Linked DNA regions of Homo sapiens: region 1 is linked to region 2. The links are contacts of gene promoters, found by promoter capture Hi-C in blood cells and fetal thymus (Javierre and others, 2016). All regions are on one chromosome and are shown on one strand. Each heading gives the region's core, a stretch centred on a gene start or on the middle of the fragment in contact. The rest is flanking DNA. Distances are from core to core; before and after follow the strand shown. Region 1 overlaps MBD1 (methyl-CpG binding domain protein 1). Region 2 holds the start of SMAD7 (SMAD family member 7).

Region 1 (2,852 bases), core at 142-2,641, 1.3 Mb after region 2:
TTGCAGTTCACACGTTGCCATGTATCTGCTAGATCACCTCGTTGGTGTGGGCAGTAGTCAGGCCTGCAGCCAGGCCTGCAGCTGCTCCACCTTCCCCAGGATCATCCTTTCAGCTTCTCTAATTCCTGGGCCAGATGCATATTTAACTCTGTGAGGAAGGGCACCAGCTTCTTCTGCAGGACACCCACATCATCGAAGCTGGAGGTGGTGAGAGACTGACATGGGTTCCAGGCCATCCTCGTGGGTTCCAGCTCGTGCTCGTGGGCTCCACTGTGTCCTCGGTCTCCCACACTTTACATCCATCTTCCCTTCCCGAGTGCCTGCCCTGCAGACTTCAAGCTCCAGCATTAGATGCAAAGACAACAGCCTTACAGAGACTGTTTAACCAGCTCCCACAATGGCATGCGGTCAGATCCCTATAATAAATCCCTTAAAATACATATATACATAATCTTTATCTTAGTGGTTCTGCTCCTCTGATTGTACCCTAACATAAATGGTCAGCAGAAGCTTAACTCATGAGTCTAAATGTCAATCAAATAAATTTCATATAGATCATTGTCAAAATTACCAGAATACTGGGGTTGGGTGGTTGGTTCCTGGGGGAAACAAAGCAGTATCAGTCTATCCAGTCTTGACTAGGGCTGAACTAGTTAGGATGGAATAAAGGAAGGGGTGGGGAAGGTGGCAGAGGCTGGACTGTATGAGACAGAACTGGGAAATGGCTAATCCATGTCTGAATTACTTAAAGCTGCAGGGCTGGGACTAGGGTAAGGCAAGGGAGGCACACAGGATACAAAGTTTAAGGAGGCACTCACTCAGTCCTGGCCCTGTAAAGCTGGCTAACAAATTACAGGTCTAATCTTTTTGGCACTTTATGAATGAAGAATTGGGAGAGAGTGAGGTAGGGCTGAGCCAAGACTGGCTCTTGGGCAGGACTCGAAGCAGGAATTCAGCCTCCTAGAACACATTCAGGCTGAGGGCAGGAGCCAAGCACAAAGGTGATCACAGGGCAGGAGATGCACGTTGTCAGGAAAGATGAGCCAGGCTGGCAGCTTTAGTTACAAAGACTGCTCTGGCTGAAGAGGGGGAGTCAGGGTAACAAGCAAAATGGACAGCAGCCAGTGGGGAGATATATCCTGTAGGGTTTGAGGAATCCTATGCAGCACCTGGGGTCTGCAGGAAACCCAGTTTCTGTATGAACAGATGCTCTGACAAGGTGACCCCATCTACATTGAGCCTTGGCACTCCCTAAACCATGCTAGAGACAGGAATGTAAGGGATTTATTATAGTAATTATAGTAATCTGTGTTTTCAAGGTCACCGAAAACTCCTGTTAGTGCATACAGGATTACAGGTTACAGTTTAGTGGAGTAAAGAACAAGGGCTTTAAAAGCTGGGTTTGAGTCTAGGCTCTACTAACACCAGCTGTTCGACATTGGACAAATTAATGAGTCTCAGTTTTCCCATCCACATAAATGGACAAAATCAATGTCTTCCCAAAAATATTATTTTAAGGATTAAATAAACTGGGTCCACAGAGGAACACACCAAATAGCAGTTCCTTTCCTTATTTATTCAATTACATTTTCAATTGCTATCTCCCTGAGGAAGTATGTAGAGACACTGCCAGGTCTCATCCAGAAGCCACTTACAATTACTCATGAACATGGCTTGTTTAGGTTGTTTTGTGGTGGCTTTAATTATATTACCTTTCTCCAACCCAGCTCCCCCACCCTTAAAATCCAACTTCTTATACTCAGGCTCTTGGGGAGGAGAAGATGCACCAACTTTCTACTCTTTCTCTTCCTTTCCCGCTTACTTCTTCTAGAAGCTCAAAGTACTCTTAGGCCTGCTCTTCTGGTTTGGTAGTAGGTTTTTCCTCCTAGGGTTGATTCACACACAAGCCCTGGCAACCAATCTAGGGTCCAGCCCCTAGTAGATCAGTGTTGTCTCTCATAAAGCCAGTCTGCAAATATCACCTTGAATCCTACAGTCTGTAGAAGCCTCCAGTCTACTGCTTTCTAGCTCCAGGTTTTTTAAGGTCTTTGGACCTAGGGAAAAGGGAGCAGGTCTGTATGTTGAATGAGGTTTGCTATGTGCGCAATGGAGCATTACAAAACCATTTCCTACTATTCTGTGTCCTCCATCCACTTCCCCTTAATTATCCTTTATCTTTTTTTATATCTTCTAAAAACTACCATTATAGACAGCTTGTACATAGTCAGATTATAAGCTCCCTGAAGGTAGGTATCCTGTGTCTCCTGAAGGGTAAGCTTTGCAGGGCTCATTGTCCTCAATGCTGTGCACCCAACAGGAACTCAATCAATACTTCTGTAATTGGCCAAGTATAGATGAAAGGGTTTCTAGCCTGGTGGGCTGGTTTGTAGGAGCAAAGGAATCCAAGTGCTTAGGCCAATAGTTTACATCGCCAGTGTCTGGGGCTCTATGCAGGGTCTGTCAATATTCTGCAGGAGCCAGCACTCCTCTGTCCTCCCAACCACCCTAGTCCTTACAGGCATCTACCCTTTGTTCTATGCCAGGACTACAGGGACAGTTCTGCAAGGCATCTGAAGTTAATAACCTCAATAGGCTCAGGAAAGGCTCAAGAGATCCAGCCCAAGCCCTTCCACAGAGGCCGCTCCAGGAAGTGCAGGGCAACCAGAGATCACACAACTACGTGTGAACCCAGCTCACAAAGCCAGCTCGGAACCCAGATCTCCTGCCCATACCACTGCCCAGGCAAGCCCAGCACCATTTCTCTGGTACACATTGCTCAATGTCAGGCAACAGCCCACCCAGAGGTCTCCTGGAGACTCTAAAGGCCTTCAAGACCCAAATGATTATTCTCT
Region 2 (3,048 bases), core at 265-2,764:
AGGCGTGACCCCCCCACCTCCCTCTGCACCCCCTTGTTGATCCGGAAATGAAGGCGTCTAATTTTTAACCGCAGACTGCAGGAGCAGTGCCCGTAGACCCCTTCGGGGCAACACAGGAGAAAACCTGGAAGGGAACCCCCAGGGAATGCCCTTTGAGTTTCCCCTTGTCCCTTCTCTACTTTCAGCCCCCAGTCTCTTCCCAGGAGGGTATGCACACTCTCCCAGGAGGGTATGCACACTCTCCCAGGAGGGTATGCACACTCCCCCTGGAGGGATGGCTGCACAAACGCACTGCCCTAGGGGCTTTTCTTCCAGCACTGGCGCTCCGGAAAATGTTGGGGGTAGGGGGACAACTTCTCACCTAGTTCGCAGAGTCGGCTAAGGTGATGGGGGTTGCAGCACACCAGCTCGGGGTTGATCTTCCCGTAAGATTCACAGCAACACAGCCTCTTGACTTCCGAGGAATGCCTGAGATCCGGCCACCTGAACACTTTGCACAGCAGGAGGGGGAGCGAGTAGGACGAGGGCGGCTGCGCAGGCTGCGCGCCGGCGGGCGCCCCCGGGCCCAGCCTGCAGTCCAGGCGGCCGGGCAGCAGGAGGCACGCGGTGCGCGTCCCGCCGCGGGACTCCACGGCCTGGAGCAGCAGCTCCAGCTGCCGCTCCTTCAGTTTCTTGAGCACCGAGTGCGTGAGCGCCTTCAGATCCGCCTCGGCGCCCCCGGCCGCGCCGGCGCCCGCGGCTGGCGGGTGGGGATGGTGGTGACCTTTGGCACCTCGCACCGCCTTGCCCAGGCAGCATCCAGCCCTGCCCGGGCCGCCGCCACCGGCCCCATGCGCTCGGCTGTCCGTCGCCCCTTCTCCCCGCAGCTCGCCTCCTCCTCCACCTCCCCCTGCGCCCTCCTCCTCGTCCTCGCCGCCGGGCGCACGGCTCCTCCAGAGACGCCGGACGAGCGCAGATCGTTTGGTCCTGAACATGCGGGGCGAGGAGGCGAGGAGAAAAGTCGTTTGCCTGCTAAGGAGCGAACATGACCTCCGCACACCATGAAGAAGTCGGGCGCCGAGTTGGGGCAGCAGGCGCAGGCGACAGCAGCAGCAGCAGGGGCCCGGGCAGGAGCGGCGGCGGCCCGAGGGGCGCTCCGTGGCATGCGCCAGTCTCCCGGAGGCCGGGGCGCGCGCGGGGGCCCGGGGGCGCCCGCCGGGGATCGGGGGCCTGCGCTCCGGCTGCCCCACCCCGCGCGGCCCGCGCCCTGCGCGGCTCTCCGGCCCCGGCGCGCCCCGGAGGAACCCGGCCGCCGCTTCCCTGGGGACGGCCGAGCCTGCCCCCGTCGGCGCCTCCCCAAAAAGAGGCCCCCCCGCAGTGGCTCCCGAATGTCGGGCTCGCCAGCCTCGGCTTCCTACATGGAAGGTCCGCGGGGGCAAAAAACGAAAGGCGTTCGGCTGGGCTGTTGGAAGAAGGAAAAAGCCTCTTTCCCCCTTGCTAAGCAACTTAATTTGGGGGTGGGGAGAAGCAGGCAATTAAAAAAAAAAAAGCAAGCGATTTATTTTTTTCCTCTATATCCTTAGTAACCGGATCTCCTCGAATTCCGCGCACACGAAGACTCAGGGGAGGGGGCCGAGTGGACTTCACCCCGCATGAGACGTCTGGCAAAATAAGAAGGCTCTCGCAAAACCTAACAACCAAATATGCAAAGCCCCAAATGAAAACCACCACCTCCTCGAACCTCAGAGGTCTGGGGGCGTCCGGCTGGAACTGGGGTTTAAAAAAAGAAAATGTTTACAAAGTATAACAAGATGTTTGATGGGTGGAAAAATGTATCCACGAGTTACATCCCCCCGTTTCCTTGCAAAGCCCCGCTGGTCTTCCTCTCCTTTTCTTCTGCCAAAAAAAAAAAAAAAAATCGTGTATTTTTTTAATCCACAGAAAGCTTTGGCTAGACCGCTTCAATCCTGCGCATCTGGGTGGTTTAGGGGAGTCTCTGGTCTTTCCCCCTGCGCTCCTGGGGGCCCAGGTCCTCGGCGGGGACTTCCTCGAGGCTGGCGCGGGCGCAGGGGCAGAAGATGCTGCGGCGGCGGCTGAGCCCGGCGGGGCTGACAGCGCGGGGGAGGGTGGCGCGGCGGCGGCGGAGGGCCCCAGACGGGTCGCGCGTTCTCGCCCCCCCCGGGCACAAGCTGCTTGCTAGTGCAGGGGCCGCCGATGTCCCTTCCCCTGGCCGCGGCTGGCCGCCGAGGCTCCCCGCATGGGCTGCTCGCCTCGACCCAGCTGCGGCGGCAGGAGGCCCCGGTGTCCTCTCGGCGCCTCCTCCTCCGAGACTCTCCTCGTCGCGCCCGGGAGCCTCCTTGTCCCCGGTCCGCCCTCTCCTGGCGCTCCGGTCCTTCTGCCGCCGCCAGGGGCTCGCCGCGCCGCACTCAGGGGCTCAGGGGCCGGGCGCTCGGCGGCTCGGCGCCGACGGACTGGCTCTGTCTCGGGCAGCTCTCTCCCGCGCGGCGAGCGGACCGAGCACGGCGCCCGGCTGGCTCGGCTGGCGCGGCTCGGGGACAGGATCTTCCGTGCGCCGAGCAGCAAGCGAGTGTGCCCGGGGCTCACCGCCTCCCGCAAGGCCTCCCGCCCCCGCCCCCTTCCCTCCCCCTTCCTCCCCCTTCCCTCCCCCGCCCCCAGCCGCCGCAGCCGCGCCGCCTCCTCCCCGCCCCCCCGCACCCCCCCTCCGGCCCTCTGCTCGGCTGGTTCCACTGCGCAGTGGCGCGCCCGGCTCCGGCCTCGTCACGTGGCCGTCTAGACACCCTGTCGCTTTAAAAAAAAAAAAAAAGCGATTGTGTTTCGCAAACAACAGATCGGGTTTCTAAAAGCTATTTCTCCCCCCAACCCCCCGCCACCGCCACCCCCTCCCGGGTCTGTAGAGGGGGTACCGATGGAGGGGAGAGAGATAGGTGGGGGGCAGAGAAGCTCCCAGAATGGATTGAGCCCCGGCCGGAGCCATGGAGAAATTGGAAAAGCAGGGAGCACCGAGCGGGCTTCGCCGCGAGTTTTGGAGCTGAGCGAGCGGGTCGGTGG

The links. Contacts are between HindIII fragments. The CHiCAGO score rates a contact against its expected background, and 5 or more counts as called.
Region 1: a fragment that was not itself captured here is called in contact with the fragment with the promoter of SMAD7 in region 2 in 1 of 17 cell types (activated CD4 T cells); the score reaches 6.6 in activated CD4 T cells.

Annotation. Positions count from the first base shown.
Region 1 is chr18:50,269,487-50,272,338 of GRCh38, forward strand. MBD1 (methyl-CpG binding domain protein 1) reads right to left here. Exons shown (of 17, transcript NM_015846.4): 16 at 1,983-2,054; 17 at 1-332. The coding sequence ends at 2,015. Among named protein-coding and RNA genes, the nearest start is that of CFAP53, 4.4 kb to the left of the region's middle. The HindIII fragment of the contact is 1,766 bases long and covers 509-2,274 here.
Region 2 is chr18:48,949,451-48,952,498 of GRCh38, forward strand. SMAD7 (SMAD family member 7) reads right to left here and starts at 1,515. Exons shown (of 4, transcript NM_005904.4): 1 at 362-1,515. The coding sequence starts at 974. RefSeq lists silencers at 453-772, 1,989-2,688. The HindIII fragment of the contact is 3,263 bases long and covers 1-1,922 here.